Linked DNA regions of Homo sapiens: all the other regions are linked to region 2. Evidence: promoter capture Hi-C in human tissues and cell types (Jung and others, 2019). All regions are on one chromosome and are shown on one strand. Each heading gives the region's core, a stretch centred on a gene start or on the middle of the fragment in contact. The rest is flanking DNA. Distances are from core to core; before and after follow the strand shown. Region 1 overlaps ZNF341 (zinc finger protein 341). Region 2 holds the start of CDK5RAP1 (CDK5RAP1 mitochondrial tRNA methylthiotransferase). Region 3 overlaps ZNF341-AS1 (ZNF341 antisense RNA 1). Region 4 overlaps ZNF341 (zinc finger protein 341).

Evidence for each region. The method cuts DNA at HindIII sites, captures the fragments that hold promoters and counts their contacts. A contact is called where the count stands out against the background at its distance.
Region 1: a fragment that was not itself captured here is called in contact with the fragment with the promoter of CDK5RAP1 in region 2 in 2 of the 25 tissues and cell types used here (IMR-90 fibroblasts and neural progenitor cells).
Region 3: a fragment that was not itself captured here is called in contact with the fragment with the promoter of CDK5RAP1 in region 2 in 2 of the 25 tissues and cell types used here (dorsolateral prefrontal cortex and thymus).
Region 4: a fragment that was not itself captured here is called in contact with the fragment with the promoter of CDK5RAP1 in region 2 in 1 of the 25 tissues and cell types used here (aorta).

Annotation. Positions count from the first base shown.
Region 1 is chr20:33,774,472-33,777,341 of GRCh38, reverse strand. All of the region lies in intron 10 of ZNF341 (zinc finger protein 341), which reads right to left. Among named protein-coding and RNA genes, the nearest start is that of ZNF341-AS1, 35 kb to the left of the region's middle. The HindIII fragment of the contact is 6,435 bases long and covers 1-2,870 here.
Region 2 is chr20:33,400,238-33,403,362 of GRCh38, reverse strand. It overlaps CDK5RAP1 (CDK5RAP1 mitochondrial tRNA methylthiotransferase), which reads left to right and starts at 1,844. Exons shown (of 14, transcript NM_016408.4): 1 at 1,844-1,935. It overlaps LOC124904889 (a long non-coding RNA gene), which reads right to left and starts at 1,781. Exons shown (of 2, transcript XR_007067567.1): 1 at 1,688-1,781. RefSeq lists enhancers at 1,704-1,903, 2,044-2,133. The HindIII fragment of the contact is 17,720 bases long and covers 1-3,125 here.
Region 3 is chr20:33,801,256-33,804,452 of GRCh38, reverse strand. All of the region lies in intron 1 of ZNF341-AS1 (ZNF341 antisense RNA 1), which reads left to right. Among named protein-coding and RNA genes, the nearest start is that of ZNF341-AS1, 8.2 kb to the left of the region's middle. The HindIII fragment of the contact is 4,512 bases long and covers 1-3,197 here.
Region 4 is chr20:33,744,755-33,747,831 of GRCh38, reverse strand. It overlaps ZNF341 (zinc finger protein 341), which reads right to left. Exons shown (of 15, transcript NM_001282933.2): 3 at 2,533-2,729. Among named protein-coding and RNA genes, the nearest start is that of ZNF341, 14 kb to the right of the region's middle. The HindIII fragment of the contact is 8,876 bases long and covers 1-3,077 here.

The sequences.
Region 1 (2,870 bases), core at 198-2,697, 370 kb before region 2:
TTTTTTTTTTTTTTTTTTTGAGATAGGGTCTCACTCTGTCCTTCAGGCGGGAGTGCAGTGGTGCGATCTCAGCTCACTGCAACCTGTACCTCCCGGGCTAAAGCAATTCTTCTGCCTCAGCCTCCTGAGCAGCTGAGACCACAGGCATATGCTACCATACCCACCTCTTTTTTTTTTTTTTTTTTTTTTTGGTAAAGACGGGGTTTTGCCACGTAGTCCAGGTTGGTCTCAAACTTCTGGGCTCAAGCAATCTGTCTACCTCAGCCTCCCAAAGTGCTGGGATTACAGGCATGAGCCACCGCACAGAGCCCAACTTCCTGATTTTGGTAACTATAGTATATTGCCCTTATGGAAGAGGTTATCCTTGTTTTTAGGAAATACAGGCCAGGTGTGATGGCTTACGCCTGTAATCCCAGCACTTTGGGAAGGCCAGGCAGGAGGATCACTTGAGGCCAGGAGTTCAAGACCAGCCTGGGCAACACAGTAAGACCCTGTCTCTACAAACAAACAAACAAACAAATTTACCTAGGAGTGATGGCGCCTGCCTGTAGTCCTAGCTACTGGGGAGGCTGAGGCAAGGCGACCACACCTGTGAATAGCTGATGCACTCTAGACTGGACAACACAGTGAGACTCTGTCTCTAAAAAAATAAAAATTGGCCAGGTGTGTGGCTCACGCCTATAATCCCAGACCTTTGGGAGAACAAGGCAGGTGGACCGCTTGAGCCCAGGAGTTCCAGACCAGTCTGGTCAACATGGTGAAATTCCATCTTTATAAAAAATAAAAAATTAGCCAGGCCTGGTGGCACACACCTGTGGTCCCAGCTACTCAGGAGGCTGAGCTGGAGGATTGCTTGAGCCCCGGAGGCGAAGGCTGCAGTGAGCTGTGATCATGCTACTGTGCTCTAGCCTGGGTGACAGAGTGAGATCCTGTCTCAAAAAAAAAAAAAGGCCAGGTGCAGTGGCTCATGCCTGTAATCCCAGCACTTTGGGAGGCCAAGGTAGGAGGATCACTTGAGCCCAGGAATTTGAGACAAGCCTGAGCAATATGGCGAAACCCTGTTTCTACAAAAAGTTTAAAAAAAAAAATCAGATGGGCATGGTGGTGCATGCTTGTAGTCCCAGCTACCCAGGAGGCTGAGGTGGGAGAATCACCTGAGACTGGGGAGGTCAAGGGTCAAGGCTGCAGTGAGCCATGATCATGCCACTGCTTTCCAGCCTTGGTGATGGAGTGAGACCCTGTCTCTAAACAAAAAATTAATTAATTAATTATATTAAAATTAAAATACATACATAAGTTAAATTCATGAAACAAAGGAAAGCTTTAAAACACATATATTGAAGGCCAGGCATGGTGGCTTATGCCTGTAATCCTAGTACTTTGGGAGGCTGAGGAGGGTGGATTGCTTGAGCCTTGGAGTTCTAGGCCAGCCTGGGCAATATAGCAAGACCCTGTCTCTACAAAAAATACCAAAATTAGCTGGCAGTGGTGGCACACACCTGTAGTCCCAGCTACTCAGGAGGCTGAGGGGGATGGATTGTTTGAGCCAGGGAAGTCAAGGCTACAGCAAGCCATGATTGTGCCACTGTACTCCAGCCTGGGTGACTGAGCAAGATCCTGTCTCAAAAATCAATCAATCAATAATAAAATTATGACAAAATAAGAGGTTTACAAAGAACACTTTTCGAACATGATTGCCCGTGATATGGGGAAGTGGGTCACAGTGGATGGAGAATTCCTGTTCACTCTATGTCCTGTGATAGTTTTACAATATTGCACTGTATACATATAGTTTTTGAAGTAGATAATTAATCTTTAAAAAAAAAAAAAAAAGGCCGGGCACGGTGGCTCACACCTGTAATCCTAGCACTTTGGGAGGCCGAGGTGGGTAGATCACGAGGTCAGGGATCGAGACCATCCTGGCTAACATGGTGAAACCCCGTCTCTACTAAAAATACAAAAAATTAGCGGGGCATGGTGGCAGGTGCCTTGTAGTCGCAGCTACTAGAAAGGCTGAGGCAGGAGAATCACTTGAACCTGGGAGGCGAAGGTTGTAGTGAGCTGAGATCCTGCCATTGCACTCCAGCCTGGGCAACAGAGCGAGACTCCATCTCAAAAAAAAAAAAAAACAAAACCCTTTCAACTCTGACCTGCAAAATCACTTCTAGGAACTTAGAAAAGAGCAAAGATGTACTTCCGAAGTTGTTCCCTGTATAATTGTTATACTGATGACAAACTGAAAATAACCTCACTAACCAACAATGGGAGATGACAGAAGTAAATCACAGTACACCATGCACAATGGAATACAAAGTAGCTGTTTAAAGAATGAGGCAGGTCTATTGTTGCTGAAATGCAAAGATGTCCATATTACTGATGTTTTTGTTTTTCCCCGAGACAGGGTCTCACGAGTGCAGTGGCATGATCACGGCTCACTGCAGCCTTGAACTCCTGGACTCAAGCAATCCAGCTCAGCCTCCCAAGTAACTGGGACTACAGGCACATGCCACCATGCCTGGCTAATTTTTGTATTTTTTGTACAGGCAAGGTTTCATCATGTTGCTCAGGCTGGTTTTGAACTCCTGGCCTCAAGTGATCTGCCTGCCTCGGCCTCCCACAGTGCTAGGATTACAGGCATAAGCCACCATGCCCAGCTATATTACTGTTTTAAGTGAAAAAGTTTTAAGTGATAAAACCACATGTGCAGTGATCCCATTAAATCAGTCTGTTTGTTGGACATTGCGCTACAGGAAGACAGTGTGATGAATTTTCACCAAATTCAGTGACTCTATTTGGCATCACCTGACTCAAATATAGTCTGTGATATTTATATCTGTATCCATATCTGTAAACATATTTATTACACATAT
Region 2 (3,125 bases), core at 595-3,094:
TTTTCTTTTCTTTTTTTTTTTTTTTTTGAGATGGAGTCTTGCTCTGTCGCCCAGGCTGGAGTGCAGTGGCTCGATCTTGGCTCACTGCAATCTCCGCTTCCTGGGTTCAAGCAATTGTCCTGCCTCAGCCTCCCGAGTAGCTGGGACTACAGGCACGCGGCACCATGCCCAGCTATTTTTTATTTTTTATTTTTAGTAGAGACGGGGTTTTACCATATTGGCCAGGCTGGTCTCGAATTCCTGACCTCATGATCCACCCACCTCAGCCTCCCAAAGTGCTGGGATTACAGGCATAAGCCACCGTGCCCGGCTGTTTTTGTTTTTTTCTTTTTCAAGACATGGTCTCATTCTGGTACCCAGGCTGGAGTGCAGTGTTGAGGTCATGGTTCACTGCCGCCTCAACTTCCCTGGCTCAAGCAATCCTCCCTGCCTCAGCCTTCTGAGTAGCTGGGACCACAGGTACCCACCACCATGCCGGGGTAATTTTTGTGTTTTTTGTAGAGATGGGGTTTTATCATGTTGCTCAGGCTAGTCTAGAACTCCTGGGCTCAAGCAATCTGCCCATCTTGGCCTCCCAAAGTGCTGGGATTACAGATGTGAGCCACCACGCCCGGCCTGCCACGGAGAGTTTTCAGGAGAGGGGTGATATAATTTGATTTAATAAAACAAACACAAATTCCCTTAGGCTATGTGTGGGAAACTGTTCTCAGGAGACAAGGTGACCATTAGCAGGCTACTGTGATTGTTTCTGATGAGACAATGGTGGCCTGGGTAGTTGTAGCTACCGAGTAGACAGATTTGACATTTTGGAGTTAGAGTTGACAGGGCTTACTGACAGATAGAATGTGGGGATCCAGGGAGGTGAAGAAAATGACCATTCAGTTCCTCCTAGTGCACCTGGAAGGATGGTTGGGCCATTTACTGAGATGGGCCAGAATGACAGGTACAGGTTTTTGGTGAAGGTGCATGTGTGGAAATGAAGAGTTCTGTATAAGTTAGAGATGGTCATCAGACACTCAAGAAGGGGTGTCAAGTAGGCAGCTGAGCTATGGCTCTGGTACTGCAGGGAGGGTCCAGCTGGAGATGTGAATCAGGAAGTCATTAACCTACAGGGCAGCACCCTCCAATAGAAATAGAGCGTGAACCTCTTAGGTGACTTAAAATTTCCCAGTAAGGACCGGACACGGTGGCTCATGCCTACAATCCCAGCACTTTGGGAGGCCAAGGTGGGAGGATGGCTTGCGCCTAGGTAGGAGTTTGAGACCAGCCTGGGCAACATGGGGAGACCGGTCTCTACAAAAAAATTAAAAAAATTTTAGCTGGGCGTGGTGGCGCCTGCCTGTAGTCCCAGCCACTTGGGAGTGTGAGGTGGGAGGATTGCTTTAGCATGGGAGGCGGAAGCTGCAGTGAGCCATGATCACACCATATTATTTTTCCCCCTGCTAGCCACATTGAAAAAGTAAAAAGAAACAACAGGTGAACTTAATTCAAATATTTCTACCACCATAGCTACAAATAAAAAAAACTAATTCAACAAATGTACTTATTTAATCCAATATATCCCAACAATTATTGCAGCACATAATCAATATAAACATTATATATATGAACTATTTGACACTATTTGACATTTCTTCTTCCACATCCAGTGTATCTGACATTTAGCGCACATTTGATTTGCACTCACCCACTTTGAGGAGCTCAATTGCCGCTTAAGTCCGTGGCTAGTGGCTGCCCTAAAGTTCAGCACCGCCACGGAGCTTTGGGTCCACCCGGACTGTAAAAAGGAAGCACTTCCGTTAGCATGACCCGGCCTGAAGTAGCGGCGGAACGGAAGTCGCTTGTGTATGAACGCAGCGGCGGACCTGTGAGGGGATCCGACTTGCCGGCAGAACTTACGCTGCGGGACCCCGGGCACTGTTGCTGCTGCGGGAGGTGAGCAGCGCGGCCGCCGGGGTGGGCTGCGCACCCGCTTTTGACTGGCGCCTGGGGCAGGAGGGGCCGCGGATCCCGGGAAGCGCACGGTGTTCAAGAGGGAGGATGGCACGGTGGTTATGGCGTGGGGCCTGGCGTCAGGCTGTAGGGGTTCGTACCCTAACCCCGCCGCCTAACCCCGTGTGACCTTGGACAGGTCACCTCCACTTCTTTCAAGGCTTCGCTTCGCCACCCGTGAAGTGGGGTTGACAGTACAGCCTGCCTCACAGGGTTGCTATGAGGGTTATAGGTAATAATTCGCGGAAAATGCTTTGCACCATGCCTAACGCATTGTAACCAGCCAATAAAATGTTTGGGATGTTGTACGCTGTTGTTCCAGCCTCATTGCCGACTGTCAGAATTAATTTCGAGCCTCCAGAGAGGCTTCTACATTGCGTTATGCAAAGCATTTTGCTTGTATTATTGCATTTGATCCTACGGTAGGCTTATGGAGATAGGTGCTATTATCCCCATCTAGAGGCTCCCAGAGTTTAAGACAGGTGCCTAAGGTTTAGCTGGCTTGGCAGCAGTGGGGTCAGATTCTGACTCCAGGGTCCATACTTTTTTTTTCTTGAGACGGGAGTCTTGCTCTGTCGCCCAGGCTGGAGTGCAGTGACGCGATCTCGGCTCACTGTAGCCCCTGCCCCGCGAGTTCCAGCGATTCTCCTGCCTCAGCCTCCTGGGTAGCTAGGATTACAGGCGCATACCACCACACCCGGCTAAGTTTTGTATTTTTAGTGGAGTTCATACTCTTAACCAGGATGCTCTAATACTCTCTGTGAAAGGGGGTGTGGGCTGTAAATGTGCAGTTAGTGAACGCTTACTGTATCTCAAGTTGGGTTTTTAATATCTTATTCTTAATAACACTTATGGGGTGGTAGGTGCTGCTTTTATCCTTATTTTACACATGTGGAATTGGCGGCTCAGAGACAGAAATTTGTCTTGCCAAAGGTCACACAGCAATTATGGAGTAGAAAGGGGCGATTTTAAAGTTCACACTTTAAGGCTGTTCTTCTCTGACTCTTGAAACTGGGTTGGCATTGCTCCTAAGTGCTAGTAGCAGATGTGGCAGGTCATCTCATTGGAAAGGTAATGGGCCACATCTGCTCTTTACACGTGTATAGCAGGGTTCCCCTAACCCTAGGTGGTAG
Region 3 (3,197 bases), core at 175-2,674, 400 kb before region 2:
GGTCCCAGTTATTCGAGAGGCTGAGGCAGGAGGATCACTTGAGCCCAGGAGGTTGAGGCTGCAGTGAGCTGTGAACATGCAACTGCCCTCCAGCCTGAGTGACAGAGTGAGACACTGTCTCAAAAAAAGAAAAAAAAGTGCTCAAGATGGATTTGTGATGTCTACCCAGGGTATGGGATGGGAAGTGGTGACACATGGGCAAAGTAGCTGCCATCCTGGCTGAGAATTCAGCTGCCATAAATAGAGATTCACAGAGTGGACTGGCTCAATACTGGAGAGCCCTGGGCTTTGCTGGCCTGTATTTTTCTGGTCTCTCAGACAAATGCACAGCCTTTTCAAACTTTGACCAACTCGTATTAACTTATTCAAAACTGTGTGAAAAAGAATGAGCCACTGATACATGCAAGAATTTGGATGACTCACAGATATTATGCTGAGTGAAAGAAACCAGATACAAAAGCTTGTATGACTCCATATATACGAAGCTCAAAAACAGGCAAAACTAATCCATGGTGTTAGGAATCAGAATAATGGTTACCTCCAGGGAGGTACAGACCAGGAAGAGGACCCTTACAAGGTGCTAACAGGTTCAATAGCAGGATCCAGAGGTGTTCACATGGCTGTATACAAATTAATCAGTTTTTATACTTAAGACGATTGCCCTTTATGTATCTTATGTACTTTATTAAACATGTTATATTACAATTTAAAACAACATCTCCAGGCTGGGCATGGTGGCTCATGCCTGTAATCCTAGCACTTTGAGAGGCCGAGGTGGATGGATCACTTGAGCTCAGGAGTTCGAGACCAGCCTGGCCAACATGGTGAAACCCCAAGTCTACTTAAAAAATGCGAAAATGAGCCAAGCATGGTGGTGCACACCTGTAATCCCAGCCACTCAGGAGGCTGAGGCAGGAGAATCACTTGAACCCAGGAAGTGGAGGTTGCAGTGAGCCGAGATCATGCCACTGCACTCCAGCCGGGGCGACATAGCAAGACTCCATCTCAAAAATAAGTAAATAAGTAAATAAATAAATAAATAAATAAATAACATCTCTAGCTGGGCATGGCAGCTCATGCCTGTAATCTCAGCACTTTGGGAAACCAAGGTGGGAGGATTGCTTGAGGCCACAGTTCAACACCATCCTGGGCAACATAGTGAGATCTCTTCTCTAGAAAAAAATTTAAAAATTAGCCAGGCATGGTGGTGCAAGCCTGTAGTCTGGGCTACTTGGGAAGCTGAGGTGGAAAAATTGCTTGGGCCCAGGAGTTCAAAGCTACAGTGAGCTATGATGACGCCAATGCACTCCAGCCTGGGCAACAGAGGGAGACCCTGTCTCAAAAAAGAAACGAACAACAACAACAAAAATACACACACAAAGTATCTCTAATAAGAGCAGCAACAGAAGAATAGTTTTTATTTGCAAAGTGCCTTTGCACACAAAAATCCCATCTTATCTCCATCATCCCTCTAAGCCCCATGAAGTAAGCATTACTATCCACCTCCATTTTACAGTTGAGGAAACTGAGGCCCAAAGAAGTAGGAATTGACTAAAGTCACATGGTTAAAGATACCCAGCCATATATTTGTAACCTTCTTTGAAAACATTAATTATGAAATGAGGCCGGGCACGGTGGCTCACGCCTGTAATCCCAGCACTTTGGGAGGCCGAGATGGGCGGATCACCTGACGACAGGAGTTTGAGACCAGCCTCAACATGGAGAAACCCCATCTCTACTAAAAATACAAAATTAGCCAGGCGTGGTGGTGCATGCCTGTAATCCCAGCTACTCGGGAGGCTGAGGCAGGAGAATTGCTTGAACCTGGGAGGCGGAGGTTGCGGTGAGCCGAGATCACACCATCACACTCCAGTCTGGGCAACAAGAGTGAAACTCTGTCCCAAAAAATCAAAAAAATTATGAAATAAAACCTTAATTATGAAACTTGGTCTCACATAATTATACCAAATTAAATACAGAGGACTTCGCTGATTTTTAGTTGTAAAAAAGAGTTCATCCAACATTCTCTCCTGATTAAACAAAAAACAAACAAACAAAAAAACAAAACCTGAAACACTCAGCCAACTAGGAAGAGGAGAGAACTTCTCAACCTGGTAAAAGGCATCTGTGCAAAACCCACAGCTAACATCACACTTAATGGTGAAGACAAAGGCCGAAAGCTTTCCCCCTAAGATCAGGAATAAGATAAGGATGCCTACTCTCATCACTTCCAATCAACATTGTACTGAAAGTTCTTGCCAGGGCAATTAAGCAAGAAAAATAAATAAAAGGCATCCAGATTGGAAAAGCAGAGGTAAAACTATTTCTATTTGTAGATGACATGATCTCATATAGAGAAAAACCTAAAGAATACACAGAAAGCTATTAGAACTAAAATGAGTTCAGCAAAGTTCAACAATATCAACACACAAAAATCAGTTGTATTTCTGTACATTAGCAACGAGCAATATGAAAATGATATTAAGAATCATTTCCATTTACAATAGCATCAAAAATAATAAAACATTTAGCAATAAATTTAACCACGGAAAGGAAAGGCTTGTCCTCTGAAAAGTACCAAACCTTGTTGAAAGAAATCAAGGAAGACATAAATAAATGGAAACACATTCCATGTCCATGGATTAGAAGACTTAATTGTTAAGACAGCAACACTCTCCAAATTGCTCAACAGATTCAATACAAGTCTTTCAAAATCTGAGCTGCATTTTTTGCAGAAATGGACAAGTTTATCCCACACCTCATATGGAATCGCAAGAGACCCTGAATAGTCAAAACAATATTCAAAAAGAAAAATAAAGTTGAAAGATTCGCATGTCCTGATTTCAAAACTTACTGCAAAGCTACAATAAAGAAGTTTATCGATCAATTGAATAGAGTCAAGAGTACAAAAATAAACCTATACATCTATAGTCAATTGATTTTCAACAAGTGTGCTAAGACCATTAAATGGGGGAAGCATAGTCTTTTCAACAAATGGTGCTAAGACAGCTGGGTATCCAAATGCAAAGGAATGAGGCCAGGCCCTGTGGCTCATGCCTGTAATCCCAGCACGTTGGGAGGCCAAGGCAGGAGGATCGCAGGAGCCCAGGAGTTCAAGACCAGCCTAGGTAACATAGTGACACCCCAGCTATACAAAATAATAATAATAATAAATAAAATTAGCCGGGCATGGTGGT
Region 4 (3,077 bases), core at 215-2,714, 340 kb before region 2:
CCCAGCTACTCAGGAGGCTGAGGCAGGAGAATCACTTGAACCTGGCAGATGGAGGTTGCAGTGAGCCAAGGCCAGCCTGAGCGACAGTAAGACCTTGTCTCAAAAAAAAAAAAAAAAAGGTAAGAGATGGTGAGGGGAATATTTTCTACTAGCAAAACTCACAGTCAAGCAGTGAGAAAAATGACTGTGTTTTTTTTTTTTTTTTTTTTTTTTTTTTGAGACGGAGTCTCGCTCTGTCGCCCAGGCTGGAGTGCAGTGGCGGGACCTCGGCTCACTGCAAGCTCCGCCTCCCGGGTCCACGCCATTCTCCTGCCTCAGCCTCCCAAGTAGCTGGGACTACAGGCGCCCGCCACTACGCCCGGCTAATTTTTTGTATTTTTAGTAGAGACGGGGTTTCACCGTTTTAGCCGGGATGGTCTCGATCTCCTGACCTCGTGATCCGCCCGCCTCGGCCTCCCAAAGTGCTGGGATTACAGGCGTGAGCCACCGCGCCCGGCCAAAATGACTGTTTTATGCCAGAAGATGCCTGTTTCAGTCTATATGTCCTATGGGTCTGGGGTGAATGCTTTCATAGTGATGGCAGAAATGACACCTATACAATGAATGAAGATAATGTTCTAAAGGGATAAGGAAAGAAAAGGAAGCCAGTTGAAAATCTGACCCCTTGACCTGGCATCCTGAGATATGCCCAGCCTCCTTTATGAGGGATCCTTTAGTCTTTCTATGAGCCCCCTATCCAGGGTGTCTTTGCTCCAGAACCGTGTTTTCGGCTGAGGACTCTGGAAGCTTCCCCAGATGCCTCCAGCCTTGTCCTCTGCTCTGGCCTCCGGACTTGGAAATCTACATTGTCTACTTTGTCACTGCCTCCGTTTAAAGGTTGGCAGGCATCTCAACTTCAACGTGCCCAGCTGAACTCCTGACATCCCCCCAAAACCTTCTCCTCACAGCCTCCTCCCTTCAGCTAGTGGCAACTCTAAATCAGGAGTCCTCTGTGACCCTTCTTGATCTCACACTCCTCACCCAATCAATTCACAAGTTCTATCAGCAACACCTTCAAAGTATTTCTAAAATCTCACACTTTCTCACCACCTCCACTGCCAACATGCTGGTCAAGCTACCCGCATCCACTGCCTGGATTTGCACTACAGTCCCTCAACGGGTCTCCTGGCTTTCTCTCTCACCCTCCCTCAAAACCTATTCTCTGTCCAGCAGCCAGAGTGACCTGATAAAAGTCACTATGTCCCTCCTCTGCTTGACAGCCTCCAATGGCTCCCATGTCATTCTCAGTAAAAGCCCCAGCGGCTGGGTGTGGTGGCTCACACTTGTTATCCTGGCACTTTGGGCGGCCGAGGCGGGGAGATCACAAGGTCAGGAGATCGAGAATATCTTGGCCAACATGGTGAAACCCCATCTCTACTAAAAATACAAAAATCAGCTGGGCGTGGTGGTGCGCGCCTGTAGTCCCAGCTACTCTGGAGGCTGAGGCAGGAGAATCACTTGAACCCAGGAGGCGGAGGTTGCAGTGAGCCGAGATCCTGCCACTGCACTCCATCCTGGGCAACAAGAGTGAAACTCCGTCTCAAAAAAAAAAAAAAAAAAAAAAGGCCGGGCGCGGTGGCTCACGCCTGTAATCCCAGCACTTTGGGAGGCCGAGGCGGGCAGATCACGAGGTCAGGAGATTGAGACCATCCTGGCTAACATGGTGAAACCCCGTCTCTACTAAAAATACAAAAATCAGCCTGGTGTGGTGGCGGGCACCTGTAGTCCCAGCTACTTGGGAGGCTGAGGCAGGAGAATGGCGTGAACCCAGGAGGCGGAGCTTGCGGTGAGCCGAGATGGCGCCACTGCACTCCAGCCTGGGCAACAGAGCAAGACTCCGTCTCAAAAAAAAAAAAAAAAAAAGGCCCAGACCCTACACGATCTGCCAAGACCCTCCTGCTGCCTCTCCTAGCACCTCCCACCTTCCTACTTACTCAGTCCCAGCCACTCTCACCTCCTTATAGTTCTGGAACAAACCCAGCACACTCCTGCCTCAAGGCCTCTGCATCTGCTGATCCCTGCACCTGGCTCCTGCTTCCTTCCCCAAACCAGCCGCATAACTCATTCCCACACCTCCTTAGGTCTATCTGGTATGTTCTTCCTACTTATTTAAGTAACTGCGGAAATTATATAGTACTATTGTTTCAGATTTTAAAAATAATAATATATTATCTACTTATTATTCTACAATTTGATTTTTCATACAAAACCTTTTACCTGCTATATAGTATTCTTCCTGGTCACCTCTTCACAGAGCTCTTCCCCAAGCACGATAGACAATATGGCAAAACCTCCCATCCCCGTCTGGCATCCCCTATCTCTCCGCATTTAACATGCTGAAAACAGTACATGTGCACCATCCATCTCGCCCCACTCCACAAGGGCAGGGACTTGGTCTGTCTTATCCATTGCTATAGCCCCAGTGCCCAGCACAGTGCCTGAGCATGTTAGGCCCTCAAAAAAGACATGTTGAATGAATAAATGAACAAATACCTGGCGATTGGCAGGAGTTGGGGCCTGCTGGACCGCTGTGGGTGCTGCCGAAGGTGGGTAGATGCTGTTGGTGGCCAGTGAGACTGTGGCCAGGGCGGGGGCATTCCCCTGGCACTGTTCCCGCTTGTGGGTCATAAACGCTGGCAGCGAGTTGAATTGCTTCTTACACTTCCCGCAGAGAAATACATCCTCGTCATCTGGGGTCATACCCGCAGAGTAGTGGGAAGAGGCCACAGATGAAGGTAAAGTAATGAAAAAAAAGCAAGACTATGTCAAGGGGCATCACAGTATGAGACAGGAGAACTGCAGCTGACCACAAGCAGCAATCTGGGGGGCATGCTGCGACTTGACATGCAGGTGTCAGCCATCAACTATGTGCTTCCTGGGAGTTTTCGAAGCCACACAGGTGGCCAGGCACAGTGGCTCATGCCTGTAATCCCAGCACTTTGCGAGGCCTTGGAGGGTGGATCACCTGAGGTCAGGAGTTCAAGATCAGCCTGGACAACATGGCGAAACCCCATCTCCACTAAAAATACAAAAATTAG